Regions from separate parts of the Homo sapiens genome. Here all the other regions are linked to region 4. Evidence: promoter capture Hi-C in 16 types of primary human blood cells and fetal thymus (Javierre and others, 2016). All regions are on one chromosome and are shown on one strand. Each heading gives the region's core, a stretch centred on a gene start or on the middle of the fragment in contact. The rest is flanking DNA. Distances are from core to core; before and after follow the strand shown.

The links. The method cuts DNA at HindIII sites, captures the fragments that hold promoters and counts their contacts. A CHiCAGO score of 5 or more calls a contact.
Region 1: the fragment with the promoter of TEX30 here is called in contact with the fragment with the promoter of MBNL2 in region 4 in 1 of 17 cell types (non-activated CD4 T cells); the score reaches 5.3 in non-activated CD4 T cells.
Region 2: a fragment that was not itself captured here is called in contact with the fragment with the promoter of MBNL2 in region 4 in 1 of 17 cell types (total CD4 T cells); the score reaches 5.2 in total CD4 T cells.
Region 3: a contact is called between a fragment that was not itself captured here and the fragment with the promoter of MBNL2 in region 4, in 1 of 17 cell types (naive CD4 T cells). The highest score is 5.3, in naive CD4 T cells.
Region 5: a contact is called between a fragment that was not itself captured here and the fragment with the promoter of MBNL2 in region 4, in 5 of 17 cell types (total CD4 T cells, total CD8 T cells, naive B cells and 2 more). The highest score is 8.9, in total CD4 T cells.
Region 6: a fragment that was not itself captured here is called in contact with the fragment with the promoter of MBNL2 in region 4 in 1 of 17 cell types (total CD4 T cells); the score reaches 6.2 in total CD4 T cells.

Annotation. Positions count from the first base shown.
Region 1 is chr13:102,771,309-102,775,192 of GRCh38, reverse strand. It overlaps TEX30 (testis expressed 30), which reads left to right and starts at 1,407. Exons shown (of 6, transcript NM_138779.5): 1 at 1,407-1,511. RefSeq lists enhancers at 297-974, 975-1,652 and a silencer at 1,235-1,574. The HindIII fragment of the contact is 5,388 bases long and covers 1-3,550 here.
Region 2 is chr13:102,601,420-102,605,249 of GRCh38, reverse strand. It overlaps TPP2 (tripeptidyl peptidase 2), which reads right to left. Exons shown (of 30, transcript NM_001330588.2): 2 at 329-457. Among named protein-coding and RNA genes, the nearest start is that of TPP2, 6.3 kb to the right of the region's middle. The HindIII fragment of the contact is 1,352 bases long and covers 1,124-2,475 here.
Region 3 is chr13:102,390,780-102,395,141 of GRCh38, reverse strand. It overlaps FGF14-IT1 (FGF14 intronic transcript 1), which reads left to right and starts at 623. Exons shown (of 4, transcript NR_036486.1): 1 at 623-788; 2 at 1,311-1,384. It overlaps FGF14-AS2 (FGF14 antisense RNA 2), which reads right to left and starts at 564. Exons shown (of 1, transcript NR_036487.1): 1 at 1-564. It also overlaps a transcript of FGF14 not described here. RefSeq lists an enhancer at 488-717. The HindIII fragment of the contact is 522 bases long and covers 2,084-2,605 here.
Region 4 is chr13:97,221,083-97,224,919 of GRCh38, reverse strand. It overlaps MBNL2 (muscleblind like splicing regulator 2), which reads right to left and starts at 2,587. Exons shown (of 9, transcript NM_001382683.1): 1 at 2,389-2,587. RefSeq lists an enhancer at 2,506-2,565. The HindIII fragment of the contact is 4,024 bases long and covers 2,214-3,837 here.
Region 5 is chr13:106,568,342-106,572,206 of GRCh38, reverse strand. No RefSeq gene overlaps it. Among named protein-coding and RNA genes, the nearest start is that of ARGLU1, 2.1 kb to the right of the region's middle. RefSeq lists an enhancer at 3,804-3,865. The HindIII fragment of the contact is 1,210 bases long and covers 2,011-3,220 here.
Region 6 is chr13:102,679,054-102,682,935 of GRCh38, reverse strand. It overlaps TPP2 (tripeptidyl peptidase 2), which reads right to left. Exons shown (of 30, transcript NM_001330588.2): 30 at 2,978-3,882. Among named protein-coding and RNA genes, the nearest start is that of METTL21C, 14 kb to the left of the region's middle. The HindIII fragment of the contact is 3,772 bases long and covers 1-3,772 here.

The DNA.
Region 1 (3,884 bases), core at 158-2,657, 5.6 Mb before region 4:
CCATCCTGGTTTTAGCTGGCTTGGGCCTGTTTCTTTAGGGCAGTTTTGGCCGTTTTTTTAGGGCATCCTGTTCTGACCAGATCCTGTTTTGCTCAGCAGGTGGTGATCAGTGCTTGGAAAGTCCTGCTGATCTCCTACCTCAACTATAACTGTGCAAATACTTTTCAGGGGGATAATGGAAATGTTCTTAAATTATAGTGATGGTTGCAAATGGTTTTAAAATTACTGAAAATGATTGAATGGTACACTTCAAATGAGTGAATTTTATGGCATGTAAAGAAATGTTTTTTAAAAACACAGCTAAAAAATTAGGAGACAAAGAAGTATTAAGACTTTGTAATTTGGGGAAACACTTGTGATAAATGACAGCGACTATGTGGTTTTGTGGAATGTATTTCCTTGTATGTACCGTGACAGAAAAGAGGGCAGGTGCCAACTGCACTGGGCTTGGGGAAGATTCATTCATTTAAGAAATTTTTTTTTTTCTGAGCATTATTCATACACAAGAGGTTCACGGTTAAAACAAAAATTTACAAAAAGCAACCCTTTCTTCACCTGGGAGCTTATAGCGCAGTGAGGAGACACAGATACATCCATAGCTCGTGAGGTGACCGGGGAAGGACAGGAAGAGCGGGGAGGTGATCAGGGGAGGCCTCGCTGTGAAAACCACGCGCCCTGTCGACCCCGAGGAGACGCGGCCCACGCTGGGAGGGAGCAGCCAGGACAAAAGCCGGTCGTCGTGGGGTCCCGCCTGGTGAGTGGGGGTGAGGACAGCGAAGTGTGGGCTGCCCTGGGCTTCCAGGGAAAGGAGCCAGATGGAGAGGGGAGATGTGGGGGACCGATCGCGTGCAACAGCCTAGGCCACTGCCGGCCGCTGGCTGTGGCAATGAGCGCGGAGCCTTTGGAAGATCCAGGGGACAGGCTTCCACAGCATCCACGTGGCTGCGGCGTCGCCGACAAGGCCCAGGCGGGGGCAAGATGGTACGAAGCGACCATTTAAGTGATTGTTACAATCATCCCCGCAAAGATAACAGGGGGCTTGACCCCATGTAGAAGTGTGCGAAGCGGCTGGTTTCTGTCAGCGTTTGACCTTAACGGGAGTAACGAATCGACTATGGGTGTGAGGAAGACTGGTCAGAGCTGATCGCGCCTCGGAATGGAGTGGTGGCTGGGATGCGGAAAGGCCCCGAGTGGAGCAATCCTGGGTGAGGCGGAAACGGGGGCTGACTTTCCAGCCGTCCGCGTGCTACTGAGGCGGCGGCCACCCTGGCACCTTCCCCTAGCTCCGCTAGTCCGCGCGTACAGCCCTGGGATGTGGCGGGCTGGGAGACCCACGCTCCCGGCGTGCTCTGCGGCCCGGCCCGCGCACCCGGGGGGCGTGGCCTGCGCGCGCGTGCGTCGTAGCCGAACGCTGTGGCGGGGCAGGCGAGGCGGTCGCTTCGAGCGCGCTAGTCAGCTCCCTGAAGGGAGTGACGGCGGTTGGGTGCCCGCGGCCACTTTTGCCTTCCCGGGTAAGTGCGGCGGTGGCGGTTGGCGCCGCCGGCTGACGGGCGGCTTCCTGGGAGACGGGGAGAGCACCCGGCAGGCCCGCCTGAGACGTTTGAGGCTCGCGGGCGTCACTCCTCAGGGGCGTCTGGTCCGAGCCGGGAGGCGTTCCGCTAAGTTCGGTGCCCGCGGGCACCAGCCGGTGGGGGCTTCGTCCGCTTTGCCGGGTAGGAGGGCGGAATGTGGGGTTGGTACGGGCGGGGAGAGCCGGACGGGGCCAACCTGGACCACGTCAGCCAGTCCCGGGTGACTGGCTCGAAGTAGCCTCGGAGTTGAGAGGGGTCGACCGGGGCAGCCCGCGGCGCAGCCCCGGCAGCGCGCATTTGCGGAGAGAACGGATCCCGTGCCCCGAGCGCCGCCGAGCCCCGCACGCCCGTGAGACCCGCTTTGAATTTTCTCTCCATGTTTGCTGGGGTTGTTGACCCGACCCCCCGTAAGACTCGGACTCAACGTTTTTGTTTGCCCCACGACAGCCAGCTTAATGCTGTGGACGTAACAGGGCACGAACGTTTGTAACTGAAAGTTGAAGGGGCTGTGGCGTCTCCGTCCCGTGGCGTGGGAGGTGATCGCCCAGCCCTTGTGAGTAGTTGTCGTCCTAGAACTCCGCCGACCGCCTAGCCGGTGGAGCCGGCGCTCCGGACGCCACTAGAGCTGGCGTTTCGTGGGCGCAGCACCTCTAGCCGGTCATCTTCACCATCGCCATTGAGGGCACTGAGGCCGGGCCAGGCTTCAAACCCTGCCCTCTCTGAACCTGAAGCCAGAGATGAAAACCCAGACGACAGTGGCCTGGCACGGTGGCTCACGCCTGACCCCAGCACCATGGGAGGCCGAGGCGGGTGGATCACCTGAGGTCAGGAGTTCAAAACCAGCCTGGCCAACATGGTGAAACCCCGTCTCTACTAAAATTAGCTGGGCGCGGTGGCGGACGCCTGTAATCTCAGCTACTCGGGAGGCTGAGGCTGGAGAATCTCTTGAACCCGGGAGGCAGAGGCTGCAGTGAGCCGAGATCGCGCCGCTGCACTCCTGCCTGGGGGACAGAGCAAGACTCTGTCTCAAAAAAACAAACCCAGATGACCTAGAGCAGGTTGCTTGGGGATTGCATTATGGGGCATTTTCCGTGTTTCTGAAGAAAACCAGCATGTGTGCAGCTGCCGTGAAGAACACACTGTGCATCGTGAAGTCTGAAAAGAAGTAAAGCAGACCGGGAGAGGTGGCAAACGCCTTGGGATCCCAACGGTTTGGGAGGCCAAGGCAGGGGGTATCGCTTGAGCCCGGGAGTTCAAGACCAGCCTGCGAAACATAGGGAGACCCTCGTCTCTACAAAAACATTTAAAAATAATAAGCGGGCGTGGTGGTGAGCGTCTGTAGTCCCACCTACTCAAGAGGCTGAGGCGAGAGGATCGCTTGAGCTCAGGAGTTCGAGGATTCAGTGAGCTTATGATTGCGCCACTCAATTTTCCGGCCTGTCCGCCGGAGCGAGAACCTGTCTCAAAAAAAAAAAAAATAGGGAAGCATTCTAAATTAAGATAGTGGTTGTTTACATGCATCTAAATTTACTCCTTCATGAAGTTTCACTAAACTTACATTAAGGCTATTTAAAAACAAACATGAACCTCCAGCAATGGGAGAATAGGAAAGGAAACGCTGGCAATCAAATAGCGGGCTCCAAAACATGTATGGCTTAGCAAACCCTGTATTAACCACAGAATCTTCAAACTGCACGGAAACTGGCAGCACTGGACAGCGGTGGTACTGGGAATGAAGGTGGTGTGGTGCAGAAGGTGGGTGTAAGGAGCTTAAAGAAAGATGATTTAGGTGAAATCTGAGAAGCAATTGGATATCCAGATCCCCTTCCCCATTTCACCTGTTGGGTGACTGCCTTTCCCCTTGTTAGAAGACTGGATGGAGGCTTATTCTCTTGAGAAAGTAAAACAGAGGATCTTTGAACTGAGAAACCCAGGCATAATTGTGGGGCTGCATGTATGAAGATAGGGACACTGAAGCTTGAAGTCTTTCATCTCCTTTGTCTCACTCAACTTCCAAAACTTTTGCAGTCAGATCAGACTAATGCTCTCCAGGCTGAAATAAGAGAATTCTACACGCTCACACACACAGATGGGGAAAGGTACATAATAAGTTGCTTATGGTGGTTTCTAGGAAGTGAAAGGAACTTGGTGGTTGGGGGAAGAGTGTGTGGAAACTTCTGTTTACATTGTCTTTTAAAATGTACCATGTACACACGATACCTATTCAAAAATGAAATGTATTCTTCACCTCAGGAAGATCTATGAAAAACATATTCTGTAAATTATGAACAAATACTTTGACTTCTGTTTACA
Region 2 (3,830 bases), core at 550-3,049, 5.4 Mb before region 4:
AGCCAAGGCCTGCCAGTGACCCACCAGTAGGCTTGGAAACAAACTTCCCCTTCTTCTCCCAAGCTGAGCCTTCAGCTGAAGTCACAGCCATGGCTAACCATTTGCAACCTCCAGGGCGACTGGAACCCCGTTAAGCCACACCCAGATTCCTGACTCACAGAAACTCCGAGGTAATAAATATTTGTCATTTTAAACCAGGATGTTCTGAGGTAATCTGATATGTGGCAATGGATAACTAATACCACCACCAAATGTAAGGTAAAAACATTAGATGCTTTGAGGCAAGAGTAAAAAAAAAAAAATTCAAAAAGAAGACAAAAGGTCTCACCTTAAGCACTCTTCCTGAAAGGCCAACAATCTCACCATCCTTTGGCTCTACTTCTGTAGCAGTATTCACATCGCCACTTCCTGTTGTATCAATGATATCAACGATTTTTGGTTTTCCATCAGTTGTAACCTGAAAATTAAGAAAATTAAAATATGAATGGTAGATTTTAGGTTTTTATTCCTAAACAATGCAAATCCACATATATATGTGTGTGTATATACAAAATCTACATTCACTTAAAAAAGAGAACTGAACTGTTTTAAGCCAAAAGCCTGAACAAATACTAGTAAGAAAATTTAATCGTGGAAACACTACAGAATCCTTCAAGTCGTTTCATATATTCAATAAACAAATATTTACTGAGCATTTACTATAGACCACACCCTATTTTAGGTGCTGGGGATATGGCAGTGATCCATACGCAAAAATCCCTGACGATCTTATAGCGAGAAAGCAGTTCAGTTAATAACAAAGTAAAATAAAGAACATGTCAGATGTGCTATCACACTGGGTATTAGGGAAAAAAAAGAACATGTCAGATGGTGAAAATTAACTATGGAGAAAAATTAAGCAGGGAAGGGAGATGGTCAGTGTGGGGTTTTCAACATAAGTTTGGCTGGTCAAGGAAGGCCTTGCTGAGATGGTAACATTTGAGAAAAGATCTAAAGATGGTGAGCTGTGGGCTGGACAAGTTTAGAGCTTTAGGGGGAAAAAATGTTTAGTAGTAATGGTACCATTTAATGGCACCATTATTGGATGCCACACTAGCACCTCAAACGCAACAAAGTTCAAGCTTAACATGCCCCCCACCACCTGATTTTCTCCAGGCTTTGCCATCCCAGGAATCCCCACGCCCAGCTGTTCACACTGGAAACTTAACAATCCTCCTCTGATTCTTTACTTCAGTTGACTCCTCACAGCGAAGCTAACAGGAAATCCTGTTAATTCTTTGTCTAGAAGAGAGCTCAAATCCATTGCATTTTCACTACCACTATCCTAACTTTCCAAACCACCACCATCTCTTGCCTCCATGAGGTGAATTACCTAAGTGGTCCCTCAGTTTCCACTCTTGGCCCCATCAAAAGTAATACAGGCTGAGTGACCCTAACCTGAAAATTCCAAATGCTCCAAAATCATGGACATGAAGTTCAAAGGACATGTTCATTGGAGACTTTCGAATTTGCGATACTCAACCTGTATTAAAACAAGCTGTATTTTATCAGTCCTCTCCTTTAAGCCCATCAATGTATTCATGGAGCACTCAGAATACTCGCATAAAAAGCCTCGCACCATCTGACCCCTGCCACCCCGTTACTCAGGAGTCTAACCACGCCAACCTCCTTTCAATTCCTGAAACATGCCAAACTTTTTCCTGCCTCATGACTTTTTAAACAGGTTCCTTCTGCCTAGAATTCTTTATCTCTTCAGTTGTTCCACAGGATTCTATCTTCTCTCAGTTTTCTATTAAAGTCCCTCCTGCAGAAAGGCCTCCTCGATGACCTCCTTTAGGTAGCTGCCATCCTAAACTGGATTATTTTTTCTCACTGTACCTCATTTCCTTCACAGAACATAATTCTATTTCTAATGATACAAGTAGGTGATCTTCATCTGTTCCCCCTATTAGAATAGAAAGCTCCATGAAGGCAAGAGCCATGTCTACTTTATTCACGAACATACATATACCCACTACCTAGCAGTGCCTGTCAGGCATTCAATGAATACTTCATTACTGAATTACAAGACACAAGTTACTTAGCACTAAGACTGATTTTCAAAGGTTTGATTTCTTGCCAGTCCACAAATTTTCATTTGAGCCATAACATGATTGCTACAAGTAACAATATATATTTTTACACATTTTTGTGGGAAAATAATTTCTGGGCTCTTTCTTGGCTGGCTTTCCAAAGGGAATTTGTTGCATTCAGGAATATGTACTGAGTTACCAGCAGGAATCAGCCAGAAAACAGAGACACAACGACTGAAAAAAAAACAAAAAACGAAAAACAAAAAAACAAAAAAACAAAAAAACTCCATCCTCAAGAAAGAAACAGAAACATAAAAACCGTAGAAACTGTCAGTAAAGTGGAAGAGCACAGTCTTCAGACTCCAATTCCACCTGGAGAATTCACACTCTTTACGACAAAGCTTAATGTCCACTGCTCTGGGTCTTTCTGACCAACATGCCCCTCACCCCAACACAAGTATTTCCTCTGCAATAACCTCCAAGCTCTGTAATTAAGGTATACCCTGAAGAAGGAGAGGGAAATTCTCGATGTGGAGAAAACAAAAGCACACATTTTTTTTTCCTTTACCGGACAAAGCAAATGGGTGGTTGGTGGACCCCAAATCTCATTTCAATCTTGTTGCCATGGAACAACTGAGGGCCTGATAGCTGAAGGGGTCATAAAGGCCTCCCAGGCACAGCTGTTATTTTCATGTATGGTAATTCTCAAGTTGGATGTTTACTTCTTGGGAACTGTCCTATAATAGTAACAAATAAGAATTCTAATACTCAGAAAACTCAAAGTCATAATTAAAAAAAATCACTGTGGGAATCATACCAAACCCTGATACAACTATAAAACTTAAATCAGATACTGATTCTGAAGAGATAGGCTATATGTCTCAAAAATATAATTAAAAAAGAGAAAAATGTAAGAAAATCTACCAAAATAAAAATGGAAACAAAATTAAGTTGATACTACTTTATAAAATTAAAACTAGCTAGGTCATGTACTAATCATATAAGAAAATCACCTATTTTAAAATGTATTCCAATATGAAATTTGAAAGATATACAGTAGCACTAAGAACCCAAATCACCTATCTTCACCTCAATAAGCAAACCTGAGTGACTTGAGATCAAGAATAACAAGAGAGCACTAACAAGTCAGATAGATCTCTCATTAGAAACCTCATTATCAATATATTAGCAAAGGAAAAAAGCCTAATGGGATTTAATGGCTTATTTGTCACCTATTTCCACATGCTTTACTTACAAGGATCTCTCTCCTACACACACAAATTTTCATTACAAATTATTATACATGCAATTATCCTATCCATGAATTTCTTACTTTAATATTAGATAAAGAAAACCACTTCACTAGACATAAAAAGACAAAAACAGAAATGTAGGGTCAGAGGAGGGTTTTAAAAAGGCAAACCCCCTGAGGATTTGCCATGGTGTTTTGGGAGAAGTAAAGGAAAGGAGGAAGCTGAACTGCTAACAATGGAACTATATCACTCATCTCTGAGAAGGGGGAGGCTTCACATGGGAAAGAGGGACTGAAAGCATGGGCAGTTAGTATCGGTAAGAGCTTCGGTATTAAATCCTGGGTCCTGGGGTGGGAGACTGGGAAATGCTTACTGGGCTATGTTGGCTGGATGAAACAGAAATTGCCCAAAGCTTTTCCCAAAATGTCAAGAATCTAAGTTAGTGTATGTCTTCAATGTAACCAGTAAGGTAGAGGAGTTAGTGAAGGTTGGAAGATTTGCCAAA
Region 3 (4,362 bases), core at 1,095-3,594, 5.2 Mb before region 4:
CGCTTAGTATTTTGCTCTTTGGCAGTTTGAAAAGCAGTAATCTTCCAACTTCGCAGCTCCCTGCACTCGCGCCTACCACCCTGATCTATTTGGCTTTCTCCTTTTTGGAGCCACTTTAAAAGGTGCAGGGTGCTGGGCCGCTGTGGCCTCGGGCTGAGAGGCGGGGAGTTGGTGTCCGGGACCAGAAAGTTTGGCAGAAGCCACGGCTCTGGGCCCAGGCCCCGGGCTTCCAGAGAAGTGTGTCATTATTTGTTTTCTGCAAAGCCGCGAGCGGGCCCACGCTGCAGCTCTGCCTCCAGGCGTGGAACCCCTCGGTAATCCGGGTGAAGCTGGGTTCCGAGTGTGGACTGCTTCGGCTCTGAGGAGGAGGGAGCCCAACGGGCCAGGCACGGGCTTCCTCCTGGCTTTACCCATTGGCCCAGAGTCCCCGGTCCCGCCGCCGCTGCCCTCTGCTCACGGGGACCGGCCATCACCGCGCTCCCAGCCTCGGCTCGCCGGGGGCTTCGCTACGCAATGCGGCGGAAGCGGCCCGTTGGAGCCGCCGTAGCGCGGGAAGTTTCCGTTGCCACGGAGATGACCTCTGACCCTAGGGCGTCTCTGGGACCCGGCAGCTTGTGCTGTTGTTGCTATGGAAACCATGGCGGCCGGAAGCCGCCGCGCGGGAGAGACTTGGGGCGCGGGTCGGGGCTAGGGCTCCTGCCCTGGCAGAGATCTTCGCTCTTCCGTGGTGGCCGGGGACCGGGCAGTGAGCGGCCGGCTCTGCCGCCCGCGGGGCGCGGGTTTGCAAGGTCACTCCTCCGGCGTTGACGCGGGGGCACCCCATGTGCACTGCTGGACCTGAGGGATGGGAAAGCCACAGGTGGCTGCCTTGGCCCTCCCGGTCTGGCCTCCCGCTAGCGGGCGCCAGCTCTGGACCCGAGACCCATCTGAAGGAAAGGGAAGGGAGCTGGCGTTGCTGGTGATTCTGCCCAAGCTCAGGACTGGGAGAGAACGAGCCAAGTTCTGGTCTCAGCTTACACACTAGCTACTGGGAGACCCTGGGCGGGTCCTGAAGTTTTCTGGGCTTCAGTCCCCTCGGCTACTACAAGAAGGATATTGATTAGAGTAATCCCAGATCAGCCCCAGCTCTAATATTCTAGGTTCCCATAACGTTCACACCCAGTCCTGATTGTAAGTAAACTTCCCTCACCCCTTCCCTGTATCTCTCCCGGACTATGTTAACTATATATTTAAATTGTACTCTAAATTCAGAGACCATCAGAGATAAGAGGTTGACCTTAGCGATCACAAACAACCTGTTCCTTTTACAGGTGTGGCAACTCCTTCCCAGTGGAGGAAGCGACTGTTCCAAGAGCCAGTTTTGGAATTGTAGGCACAAACACAGGTAGAAGCTTTGAGCCTTGGGTGAAGAAACGCGTATTTTACTGGTGACACTAGGAAGAGCTCCTCATGCGCTTCATAGAATTGTGTGGTTGGTGCTGAAATAGATGGCATTCCATTTATCCATTATATTCCCCAGATACCTTTTCCTTAGACAGTTTTAAGATTTTCGGGGTAGGGGAGGGTATCTTCACTAGTTTATTTTTCCTTCTCTCATATCCATGCTATTGGGAAAAATCTTTCTTAAATCTTTTTTATAAACCTCATTTGTAAATTAAGAAGTTGAAAAAGATTATTTTCAGAGTTTATTACAACTCTGAAATTTATGAATTATTTCTTTTAGGTCCACGTGCTTTTTATCACTTTTTCAGTAACTACAATCTCAAAAAAACAAAAAACAAAACTTAGTAAACACTTAAAAAGTGCTGCTGTGTTTGAACTGTTGATGCTGGAGATACAGGGGTGAAGAAGAGTTCTTCCTTCAAGGAATTAGCAGGAAAGACAAAAGACAGGATCAATTATGATGTGGTGAACAATTCTGTGTAGGTGGACCAAGGTGCTATAGGGCCAAGGAAGAGGGGCATGGAAAGGTTTCTGGAGGGAATAAAACTCAGACTGAGTCATGAAGAATGACTAAGAGTTAGCCACGTGGTAAAGGCACTGGTTAGGCTGTCAAGGAAGAGAAAGAAGCATACTTTAAGCTTTGGGGGCGTCAAAGATTGTGGTGCAGACCGAGAATATCAAGTACAACTGAGAAATAGAGGGTGTTTCTAGGGAGTGGCAGGTAGTGAGTGGGGTTGCAAGGTAGTGAGGCACAGATCGTGAGCTCTCTTCTGTGTCATGATCATATCTACCCTTTAGACAACCATTATGACTACAGCGTGGAAAACAGCTCTGGGTTGGGCAAGGTTGAAGGTGGAAAGACCAGGGAGGAAGAGCAGTGAGCAGTGGTGAGCGGTCCAGAATAAGGCAGTGACAGGCACTAGAGAGGAAGTGAAGTCCATCCATCTTAGTGGCCAGTTTGAATTTGGGAAGGAAGTTGAAGGAGGAGTCTGGAATTTTCTGATTACAGGTTTTTGATTTGGACAGTTCTGGTGAGCTAGTCTTCTGGCCATTTGCCAACAGAACACTTCCATCTTCTTGAGACATGGTTGGCTGTCTTCTGACTGTTTATATTGAGGGGCCGAGGTAGCTTTTAACAGCAAGTAGGAGACTTAGACAAGCTTCTCTTTCTAGATTAAAATTTAAATGGACAGTTCTGGGAGAGTTGCTGTGGGATAAAAAGTTCATCTTGATTTCAAACCCGAAAATCCTTAGGACTGGGAAAAAATGCTTTACAATAAAGATATGCCAAAATGATTTTTTTAAACGATTATGTACAATTCTTTGTCAATAGCAGATGTTTTTATGGACACAATACTTTGTTCAGTTTGAGGAGTCAAGTAGTGCAATTAAAAGCCAAGTTTTCAGATTTACTATTCAGGTCTGGCAAGAAAAGAGAAGGAAGTATGAACTTTATTGAATTTACATATGTAAGTTTGCACACGTGCTTTTTTAGATAGGAATGAATGTAGTTAAAATGCCTTTTTTTCCTCCTGTAGCATTTTGTTGTCTGCACAATTATAGTGGATCACTGAAGTGTGTGGTAACCTTATCTGTAATGCTGCATCTTAAAGGTGTAGCTTGGGAGGGATTGTAATATCTGTTCTTTCCACTTCCTGTGTGGAGCACATGGTATAATATTGTACTTTAAGAAATATGAACATAAGAAGGCTTAAAGACTAAAAGAGAAATCATATCTCATAATTGTAGTCCTTTTTGTTTCAACAGCCACTTATTTGTAGTCTGAAACTCATCTTCTTTAGTTGTATTGCTGCTGTATACCAGGTGTTGTAACTTTTAAGCAAAGAAAGGACCCTGTCTGCTAGGAGAACTGAGTCAGTTTTCTACGTAAGCACTCAGTAGTAACCATCATTTGGCCTTAGCATTTTATTGTTGGGACAAATTGAAAGCAGTAACACAATATGCTCTTTCCTCCTTCATTGCTAAATGAGTTGATTTGTTTCCTGAGAAGTGATGTTTTCCATTAACTTGATTATTTTTTCTTGTACCTTTAAAAATTTTTTCAACTCACATGACAAGTAACATAAAATACCTCACATCTCAGACAAATAATAATGACTGTTAAATATTGGAAATACTTTTAATGAGATCAGTACCAAATGTTAGAGATATTTTAATGATGCAGTTAAGAAATTTGATATAGGATAAAAATTTTACATCATTATTGCTTATTATTATCTCTTTTCTAGTTTTCTTTTAAAATGTTGGGAATAATTTTAAACAACACAGTACTGAGGCCATTCTGGTACATGTGTGGCAGATGTGACTCTGTATGGGGGATACTAACTGTGACATGAATGCTATAGTTAGTATGTGGTCTGATATGCAGCCATAAAGTCCGCCCAGCTTTGTCAGACCGCTTGCCCTTTGTTGTAGCAAAGTGCTTTTCCAGTACTGATATTTCATCCCTTTGTCTCCTTCTCCCTGTATTTGTACTATCCGATTCTAGATTTTGTCCTTTTACATATTTTTTAGTCATGTTTTTCAAAAATTTTGTCATCAACTTACTCTTCAGGCAAGATCAGGATTAGTATTCAATTGGATTTACCTCTTTTACATTCATTACATTAGGAAAATAGACCCAAAATAATAAAATAGTTGTCTGAGAGTAAATGAGAAACATCTGTCTGAACTTGAAACATTTACCCAAAATGATATTTATTCGGCTTAAGTTTTTTCTTTCTGTACTTCAAATTAACATGTAAAAGAACGGTGATGTGGATCTACTGCATTATTTGATTATATAATTAAATGACTTTTAGGGCATGGTAAATCTCTCACCTAGTTTTCCCGTTAACGAATGTATATTACACTTACTAGATTTTTAAAATTATATTACTCTTTTGCTTTAACAGAAAT
Region 4 (3,837 bases), core at 1,338-3,837:
ATAGTGTGCTTTGCAGAGCTTCTAGTATATTAGATTAGATCGATGGAAAAAATGCAAACAACAACGCTTTGATTTCCTTGGAAATTTCATTTGTTGAACTAAGAAAAAGTATCCCTAAAAAATTTACATGAGCACAAAGTAGAGTGAAGGGTTTTGTGTATATGACTATGTATCTTAATACTCTAAGGTGTTTGCCAACAGTTTCTTAATACCGAGGTTTTATCCCTTTGTACTTTAAATAGCTCAATGTGCCAAGAGACAAACAACTTTTTTTTTTTTTTTTTTTTTTTTGGTAAAAGGTCAAGGTCTCAAAATGCTAAATGATGAGGGAAAGTGTAGCAAGTATGATTCAATTCTATTAAAAGACAGAAAAATCAAGGTAGGCACTTGCTCAAAACTACGTGAGTAGTCAGAGAGGAGACACAAATTAGCTTTGGGAACTCCCGAGAACTCCAATGTGCTCCAGTCAAAATCTTTTTTAAAAGGTTCCTTTGTAAACATTACCCTTCCCCCGATCTCTGTGACCAAGGTTGCCACCTGTGACATGGATTTGCAGCCTGCAGTATTGTACTTCCCCTGCTTGGGGCCATCTGTGCTAGGACATGATGATTTTTCTATGAAAGCAGCTGTTCTCACCATCACAACCAGCCTTGAACTTGGTGGCACAACCTGGATCCTAAATAGTGGCTCTGGAGCAACTGGGAATAGGGCCCCGGGGACCATCCACCCAGGTGGCAGCGCTGGGCTGCACCAAGGGGGAGTCAGGCCAGAAAAAAAGCTTTGCCCTGCTCCCTGCTGCTTTTTGCCAGCCCAGCCAGAAGCCCTGCAGAAAACCTGTGCTGACCGGCCCGACATGTGGCAGGTACAAGAAGATGCCCTATTTATGAGGGGACAGGTTTACAATTTACAAAAGACAGGCGAAAATATAAAGACATAACTTAAGTCCTGCCAGTGGGGAGTTAGAATGTTCCTGGCCAGGACATAAAGAAATATTCCTCTCCACAAGCTCGAATAAAGGAACACACAGCAGAAATAGTTGGGGGATGACGTCAGAAGTTCTGGGCTAGTGTCCTGCACTTCTCCTTGAAAGTAAAAACAGTGGGTCTAGAAGAATCTACGTGGCATTGCCCTTATTTAAATGAGTAGTTCTACTGCTCCTTGCAAAACAAGTAGGATAGCTGAAGAAACTTCCTCTTATTTAAAGATTATAAGAATGTTCCCCCTGCCTTTTTTAAAAACCTTATTGTCCCCAAAACACACACATTACCCAATTAACAAATAGCTTTCCACTTAACCTTTGTCTTTTAAAGGGACAGTAATGTTTCTTGTAGAACATTCAAGGTGGTGGTGGTTAGGCAAGTCAGATTTTTTTCTTCGCTTCAGTGCTTGCTAACTATTCTAAAAATGTTACACATTTATTGTAAACACATGCTTCCGAGGCCTAACAAAAAAGCACAGTTTCCTCATGCCTGGCAGAAATTTAAAACGGAAAAGGGCAGAAAGAATTCTTTAGCAAATATATCCTTTCCTTCTCCTGGGCCAAGTGTGTTAAAAATAAATCTTCTCCATCATTTCTCACTGCTGCTTCTCAGCGAGAAAGTTGATATGGTTCGGCATAGTGAAAACACAGCTTTAAAAGCTAGCCTGCCCTCATTAAATTATTCTGCTGGCTGTGTGTTCTCATTAAAAATGCATAAAGATCAGATAATTGCAGTAAGCATTATTAACCCAGCTTTACTTTTGAATATAATGGTTCCACTTTTAAGCTGGAAACAAAGGCTCAGACATGCCAGGAAAAGAAATGTAAACATTGAACTACAGTATCGAAAACTTGCCAGAAAGCTACCTCTTGCTAGGTTGTTTAAAATGTGCTTTTGAAACTCAATTAAAGCTGTAGCATTGTAGAGCTAGGTAGGTCCCTAATTTTTAATAAATAGACACATACGTTTGGCCAAACATTCAACCGATGATTATTTACCATGAATTTTTTTTTAATCCTTAATTGCAAGTCTGTTTTCAAATAATAGGATCCATGTAAACTTTATCTATTTGGGAACTAGCTATGGCAATATAACAATTTTTCACAGCAAGAAAATAAGATTGCTCCAAAGAATTCAAATGGTTTTTAAAAAATAATATAATAAATGAATCGATTCTTTGCATAAAAACTCGATTTCTTGCCTCACCCCAAACAGGCGGCATAGATTCAAGCTTTGCCATTTCTTTTTCTCAAATCAAAATGTTACGTAAAACTCCAGGGTCCCCCGCAAGTATTACAATTGAATTAGTGGAATCCAGTTTCCCTGGCTCCCGTAAGCAGCACACATGGAATGCAGCATACTGCAGCAAACTCTTTAAACATTCAAAAAAGGGGGGCGATTCTCCTACCTTGTTTAGCTCTGCCTGTCCTTCCCATTTACAGTAACCCCAGGAACATCTGGCAGAACCAAGTGGCCGAGGCTTCTCCACCGCATCATGAGAAAGAAACTTCCATGTAAATAGTTCTCATTCCCTGTTTATTGTACTCTGAAAGCCGTCTGCCGTATCTGGAAAATTTTACCTTCAGATGATGAAGCAAAGACAGTCTAAACTCTGTTGCTGTAAGCTGCAGCCCTTCCTTCCGACAAATCCCTCCCAGCCGGGGCCAGCCAATCCCCAGCCAGCTCGTCAGCCCTACTCGTCTGAAACTGGCCCTAATAGGATGACTGACACAGTAACACAGCACTTGCAGTGTGTAAAAACAGTGCATCCATACTGATGAAAGAGGAATTTCCCTCTCAGAAGAAAGCAATCATAGCACCAAGACAAAGTGGCACATAATTGGCAGAGCAGAGAGAGGGGTAGCTCAAGAAAACACCCTTGAAGACAGCCAGCTCGAAGCCAGGAGCTTCACCGTGAACACTTGGGAAAATGTGAAACTCCGCAGATTCCAAAGAAATCCAGGTTGTACATGAAACTGAAGTCCTTGGACTATCTGACAAAGCATATGTATATGTTTTTTAAAGGAAAAATAATTCAACGTCTGCCATGGCAGTTAATACCTTACAAAACATTTACATATTTCCATTATTGAGGAAGAATGTGCTAGCCCAAGTGCGTATTCAAAATCAAAACATGCTTATAGCTCTGGCACACACAGGTTTCCTGTATAACATCTGTTATTGCAGTGGTTAATTACTGCGGCCCATTTATCTTTCGTCTAAGTTTTCAGACCACTTGGGACTTCGATTAGGGAATGCTGGACAATAAAATTGATATCTATACACTACCCTTTTCTACTCTTGGCAGGCACCCACGAGAGGATTAGGTGTGCTTTAACCATCTTAGATGCCATTTGATAAATACTGTGCATTGGCTCACATTATCGTTAATGAAGCAATGATTATAGGAAGATGTTTACTGTTGAATACAAGGGGTACATGATCCAAGGGCCCCCATGAGGTGCCATTCCACAAAAGATGTTCTAGGAGGTGCTGGAGTTTCCTGAGATAAAGCAGAAGAAGAGAAAGTTTAGGAAGGGTTATTTATTTATTTATTTATTTATTTATTTCCCAGTCTACAGCATTTCTGTATGCCTTGAAAACAAAAACTCAAAAACATATGGCATTGAGCAAACACAACAAGCATACATTTTCCTCCCCTAAATACCACATTTTGAGAAAAAAAAAGTATGATGATTACATGATGAGACCAAGACAGAACAAAGCCTTTATTCATCTGAAAGGTTGAACCCAATGCACGATTTTTATAAGCAACTGTTCAGCGCATCTGTAATGAAGCAACAGAATGCAATGGAATGCTTTCTTTTTATTTTGCCATTGCATCTTAAAAACATAA
Region 5 (3,865 bases), core at 1,366-3,865, 9.3 Mb before region 4:
AGGTGTATTCGGCATATATTTATCGAGGTTAGCTAACCCATAGGGTGTCAGTGGACACAAAACAGTCAAGATGCCGAGAATTTGGATTCTGGTGGCAAAAAATAGTCAATAAAGAAATACATGAGAAAATAAGGTGAGTTCAGGGAGTGTGAAATGTCAAGATTTTGATAATTATACTATAAAATGCAGGCATAAAATGTGTGTGTTCCTCATTCCTTCAATGCATCCTCAGAGATGATCCCTGGTAAATTAAGGGCTTTCATGCACTTTTTCCTTTTTTTTTTTTTTTTTTTTTTTCCTGGCAGCAGCCAAAAGACATGGCCAGAGCCTGAGCAGGGTAAATATCATCTTTTTTTTTTTAGACAGAGTCTTGCTCTGTCACTTAGGCTAGAGTGCAGTAGCCCGATCTTAGCTCACTGCAACCTCTGCCTCCTGGGTTCAAGCAATTCTCTGCCTCAGCCTCCTGAGTAGCTGGGATTACAGGCACCCGCCACCACGCCTGGCTAACTTTTGTATTTTTAGTAGAGACGGGGTTTCACCATCTTGACCAGGCTGGTCTTGAACTCTTGACTTTGTGATCCACCCGCCTCAGCCTCCCAAAGTGCTGGGATTACAGGCATGAGCCACCACGCCCGCCCCAATATCATCCTCTTTTAAAAGCTCCATAATCCCCTATACCTCTACATCCAATCTCCAGTGGTCTTATAAGAAGAGGACAGACGTACAGTAAAGATGGAGACAGGGACTAAAAGCCAAGGAATGCCAGCAAGCACCAGGAGCTAAGTGAGAGGCAGTGAACAGATTCTTCTCCAGAGCCTCCAAAGGAACCAACTTTGCTGACATTTGATTTTGGACTGCTGGACTCCAGAACTGTAAGTGAATACATTTCTGTTCATTTAAGACATCAGTCTGTGGTAATTTGTCGGGGCAGCTCTAGAAAATTTATACACTAACTCATTGGAAATAACTATCTTTATCATTAAACAGACATCATTCTGGATTATATATATATGTAATATACATATATATAAACAAAATTCCAGATATATCTATACATCATATCATATATTCACACCATATATGGATATATAAACCATATATATCATTCCCACTGGATAGATAGGTACAGATACGTACAGACAGATGGTTAGATTGACAGAAATATTTCTACTATAATGGGGGTAATTCTATACATTCTATATTAAATGTGATTTTACTTGAACGTATCTGAAGTAAAAGAATAGATCTATCCTTCTATTGCACTGTTTTCCTATTTCTGTCCTAAAATCTTGTTGTTCAGTTTATTCAATTTTGTGTAGGGCAAACAGGTACTGTTTGCTACGGTCTAAATGTTTGTGTGCCCTCCCAAACCCAGATGTTGAAATCTAATCACCAATGTAATGGTATTAGGAGGTGGGGCTGCTGGAAGATGACGGTATTAGGAGGTGGAGCCGCTGGAACACGATGGTATTAGGAGGTGGGGCTGATAGGAGACAAAGGTATTAGGAGGTGGGGCTGCTGGAACATTATGGTATGAGGAGGTGGGGCTGCTGGGAGATGACGGTATGAGGAGGTGGGGCTGCTGGGAGATGACGGTATGAGGAGGTGGGGCTGCTGGGACATGATGGTATGAGGAAGTGGAGCTGCTGGGACAGGATGGTATTAGGAGGCGGGGCTGCCGGGAGACGATGGTATTAGGAGGCGGGGCTGCCGGGAGACGATGGTATTAGGAGGCGGGGCAGCTGGGAGACGATGGTATTAGGAGGTGAGGCTGCTGGCTCTGCCCTCATGAATTGGATTAGTTCCTATCTTAGTCCATTCAGCCTACTATAAGACTACCTCAGACTGGGTCATTTATAAACAGCAGAAATTTATCGCTCAGAGTTCTGGAAGCTGGGAGTCCAAGATTAAGGCACTGGCAGATTCAGTGTCTGGTGAGGCCTCACTCTCTGCTTCATAGATGACACCTTTTTCTATGTCTTCACATGGTAAAGAACGGGTGAACAAGCTTCCTTGGGCCCCTTTTATAAGGGCATTGCTATGGCTTAAATGTATGTGTCTCTCTAGAATTCCTATGTTGGAGCCTAAAATCCACTATAATAACATTAAGAGCTGAAGCCGTTTTGGAAGTGATTAAGAAATGAGGCTCCACCCTCTTGAATGGGAATAGTATCCTTACAAAAGAGGTTGACAGGAGTGTCCTAGTTCCCCCCCCTTTTTTTTTGCCCTTTTGCCTCCCATCCCTTCCCTCATGTGAGGACACAGTGTTCGTCCCCTTCTGTGGACCCAGCAAAACAAGGCACTATCTTGGAAGCAGATAGCAAGCTCTTATCAGACACTGACTCTGCTGGTACCTTTATCTTGGACTTCTTAGCCTTCAGAACTCTGAGAAATAATGTCTATTATTTATAAATCACTCAGTCTAAAGTATTCTGTTATAGCAGTGGAAATGGGCTGAGATAGGCACTAATTCCAGTTATGAGGTTAGAGCCCTCATGACCTAATCAATATCCCAAAGCCCCACCTTTTAATACTATTGCACTGGTGATTAGGTTTCAACATATGAATCTGAGGGAACACAAACTTTCAGACCCTAGAAGTGCCACTAAAAGAGAGCTCAGAGAGCTAGCTTTCCCCTTCTATCATGTGAGGGCACTGTGAGTAGGTGCCTTCTGTGAGTCATCTGTGAATCTCTGGGTCCTCACCAGCGACCAGATTGGCTAGCACCTGGATCCTGGATTTCCAACTTTCAGAACTGTGAGAAATAAATTTGTTGTTCATAAGCTGCCTAGTTTATGATATTTTGTTACAGCAGTCAACACAGACTAATACACTACTCTTCTTTGTTTCCAAGTTTTCTTGATAATTAATTATGTGATCTTCCATATAAAACTTAAAATTAATTAGTTCTAAAACACATATCCCCAAGAGAATTTGGGACTCTCATGAGAATTGCACTAATTTTGTAATTTGACTTGGGAAGAATTGACAGTATTTTTGATACTGACTACTCACCTAAGAATACAGCATGTTTTACATTTACTAGGGCCTTATTACTGCCTTTTCAGTAAAGGTTTATAATAAAGATTGTGTAACTTGTTAAAGTTTATCCCTAAGTATTTTATGGTTTCTGTTGCCATTGTGGAGGAAATATTATTTCATTTTTAATATGTTTTTGCTTATTCAAATAATTCTAATTTTTCTTCTACTTACTTAAGCTTTATTATTGCACTCAATTTTAAAATTGAGGCACCTAGATTTTCAAGGGTTCCTGTCATCTGCAAATATTAACATTGCCTTTTCCTTTTAGGTCTTAACAATGACACAGTTTGTTGTGCCACATAGGGACGAAGCTTTTCGTGGCTAGGGTTGAGGAGGGCTTGCTGGTTATGTGCAAGGGCTTTGCACAATATGATCTAGGTTCACGTCCCTGCTCTGTCACCTACTGGTTGTGTGACCCTTATTTAACCTCTGTGGACCTCAGGGTCCTCATCTCTGAAACGTGGATAATAGTAGTACTTAATTCAGAATTGTAAGAATTAAGCACTTGTTAATACATTAAAGCATTTAGAAGGCACATTAAGCCCTATAGTAAGCATTAGGTTACATTCATCAAAACCTGCTGCCTACTTACCTCCTGCAAGTCTCATAAGCACTTCAGAAAGTGTGGTGTCTCCATTCTACGAATGAGGAAACTAAGTCCAAGGCAGCAAGTGATGAGTGCAGGGTCACTTGGAGATACATTTTAGGGCTGCCCCACAAGACCAGCTCCTAGAAAATAATGCAATCAATCAACTTCTGCGAGGCCGGACTTAAATCCCACTAAAACGTGCTTAATTCATTCAACAGGCGTTGGCATCTTACC
Region 6 (3,882 bases), core at 637-3,136, 5.5 Mb before region 4:
TGCAAGTCTCACACACTGCTAGTAGGAATGTCAAATGATAGTCATTTTGAAAATGGTCTGCTAGTTTCTTACAATGTAAAAAGAAATATACCACATCTCAGCAATTTCATTCCTAGATATCTACACAACATTACTTGAAAAGATATGCCCATACAAAGACTTGTAAACAAACGTTCACAGCAGCACAGCAGCGTGATTCCTAATAGCCTCAAATATAAACAATCCAAACATCCATCAACTGGTGAATGAACAAAATGTGGTACATCACACAACACAGTATACACAGCAGCAACAGGGAATGAACAGATACACCCAAAGTGGCTGAAACTTAAGAACATTACATTAGGCGAAAGAAGACACAAAAAATTACATATTGCGATTCCATGTATATAAAATTTCTAGAAAAACTATAGGATTAGAAAGCAGTTCACTGGCTGAGGCTAGGGGTGGGAACGGAGACTGGCTACAAATGAGCTTGAGGGAGTTCTTCCAGATGATTGGGAAGTGCTAAAAACCCAGATTGTGCTGATGGCTGCATTCCAGACATTAGACTGCACACTTGAAATGGTTAAACTTTATCATATGTTCAGTACACTTCAATAAAGCTGTTAAAAAACCCACGGTTTGTCCCAAATGTTATGCAAATTTTCTTTCAAATCCTCTATCTTTCAAATATACAATGTAGAGGAATCTATTAAGAAAATTACAGCAATGAAACTTGTTCCTTTAAATGTCTTCTTAAAAACTTTTCACATTTCCAGGGCAAAGGAATATGATCCTATGCTTATTTTGTAAATGAAGTGTCCTTTTAGAATGGCTGAATTGATTAGTCACCTTTTTCTTTACACTATTAGAGAAAATTTTAAATAAAGTAGACTAACTGTACATTTTAAATACGTGCAGTTTATTATATGGCAACTATAGCTCAATATTCTGCTAAGTAAGTATATTTCAACTCATGGAAAACCGTGGTTAATCTAAAACATTCCTTTCTCTGCTCCCATATTAATTTGAATCAAATCAGACAAATCATTCCTTTTGTAAATTCAGGTTGTATCTATACAAGATACGTAACCACAATACTATCACATCTAAAATATAATTTTATATTAAATAAGTAACATTATACGTTAAAATATGTAGTGTTCAAATTTCCAATTGTCTTGTAAGTGTCATGACATTTATTTTTAGTTTCAATCAGAACCCAATCAGGTCCAAATTTGATTAGTATGTCTCTTAAATCTGATCCTCCTTTCATCTTGGTTTTTTGTAGAATTTCATACTACTGCATTATGCAGACTGCACCATTAGAGTGTCCTTTAACTTGTTCCTCAATCCTCTGTTGTTTCTGTAAATTTCACATCTTAATGACTCAGGCTTGAAACCATCTAGCCCAAGCCCAGCTTAGATCTGCCAAATTCCAGGCAAGTTACACTTATTAGTGAAAATAAGTTAGACAGATGAGTTTTGAAGTAGCTTAACTTTTAAAATCACACATAAAATGAAATTACGAAATATATTTCCAGTTGCTTTGTATTCTATTTGCATTTTGGTAAGACCTGGCCGATTCTAGAGTGAATTTGGTTTACATGACTGGGTATGCAGGCAGCCCTAGCTGCACAGTGAAAACCTGACAGCTGGCACTGACACTGGAACTGTAGTTATACATGTTTGTCCCTCGAGAGAACTCAGCTTGAATTCATTACAAACTTGCCTGATGTTTGAAATCTTCTCACAAAAAAAGGGGTTTTAAATGAAACTAAAACAGTACATTTGCAGAACTGAGTGCAGAGGCATTCTGCAGCAAAGTGCTAGCAGGTACTGCACCATCACATCCTGACCTGGCTGTCTCAGGGTATCAGAAGGCAGGTAGAAATTCTGCTGATTGGGATGCCCAAAAACCCTTCATGTTAGAGCGTCACTTACATCCTCCTCTTCTGGTTTCCGGGATTTTACTTAGTCAGCTTCCCTTTTTCAGTTTACCACCCATGACTACTGATAAATTCTTCACCCCTTGGTTTGCTATGTTCAGACTGAGACTCTTGAAATTCAGTTTCTCACTTCTTTATTCCTCAAAAAATTCTCTCCATTCAAGGTTTCCTCCCCTTCCCCTTTAGGGGAGATAGCAAGAATCCCTATTATCTATCTCCCTATGAAGGCTTCTCTGACTTAGATCCTAAAGGGAAAGACAAAGACCCATGTATTCTGAATGCTGGGTTGCTGGGAGGACGGAGAACGAAACACAGTGGAGGCAAAGACTCAGTTAATTCAAATGAAATAATTTTTTTAGTTGGAATAGACACACTGATTCAACACCACGATTTTCTTAAGGAGATTCATGGGGGTCAAGTGATTTGACTTGTCAGTACTTGAGCCAGGATTAGACAGCAGAGACCCAGGCTGGGGCTTCCAGTCATCCAGTCCCTGCACATTTCATTAGAGCTGGGGGTGGAGGGAGAAAGGGTTTGAGATTTGTGGTGCCTAAGAAGAGAAGCAGGTGGGGCTCTTCTGCGGTAAAGAGAAGTTCTCCCAGAAAGCATGCTAACATGAGGAAGGAAAGAAATCCCATGAGATGGCAAAACTCCTCCCAGTAACAATTGAGAACTGCCTCTTATTATTGGAAAGGGGCCACAGAACCAGTATTGAGCACATACCCTGTACTGTCTCTAATGGTTCTTTAAAAAGTTATTTTTACCTAGTTTTTTCAATTGTTTTCAGTGGGTGTGCAAACATTGGCTACTGTGACCAGAAACAGGAAAACTGCTTGACTTTTTGAAGTACCATCCTACTGTTTGTATTATTTTTAATGTAATCACATAGAAACAGTAATGATTTTACTGAGAACATCTTCTAGAGCTTACTTGGGTCCACTTGTCACCACAGAAATGCAGAATGAACCAGACAGGAAACAGGAGCTAACATGGCAGCTTTGTATAACTGCCTCCAGTTACAGGAGTCACAAATGAATAGGCATGGCTCTGTTCCAATAAAACTTTATTTACAAAAACAGGCAGCAGTCCAGTTTGGGTTAAAGGGCCAAACGTTACTGATTCCTGCTGTAGGTAGTACTTACCTGAAATAGCAAAACCTGGGTTGTAAAGCAAGGTCTGTAATTAATTTCCAACAGTTGATCAGCCGTATAACCTTGGGAAGTCATCCTACCTTTACTGAGCTTCTCCATTCTCTTACTGGACTAAACCTATACAAATGGGGACCTGTATGTGTGTGCAGGTGAAAGTCCATGAGTGTGTGAGAGAGAACATGCATGTAGCTTTCATGGATAGACTTTGGACCCTAGCTAGCCCAGAAGGTGTGACCAATATGCTTATACATGTATTTATGTTTCTCATAAACGCTCTAACACTTCATGAGATACAGCAGAAACAGTTGGGAGTGACTAAGGATTACTGGTAGTAATTTTAAGCAGCAGTAAATCTTAAGAGAACAAGATAAAAAAATCATACATACACACAATTTGCCATTAGATAAGGGACTGTAAACTTTTCAATACTACTTTTGTCTGTTTATTTGGTGGAGGAATGACGAGAGATGCACGTGCAGTAGCCAAAGATAAAAATAATAAAAAGTTAGATATGCACAAAAGTTAATCATACAAGAACTGGAAATACATTCAAATAATTGTAAGCCTATAAGAAACACTGTAAAATAGATTATCTTATGTTTAACTTTTTTTGTCTATGTATTTAATGTATTATTTCTGTTATAACCCCAAATTTTATTTATGAAAAATTAAGACCAACTTTAAGAAGCTTCAATATTCACTTTTATTATTTATAAAAAAAAATTAAGGTACCAGAGTGCATATGGTGTACTGTGATCTTGGTTTTGCAAATTTATTCATGTGTTTTACATTATTTCAAT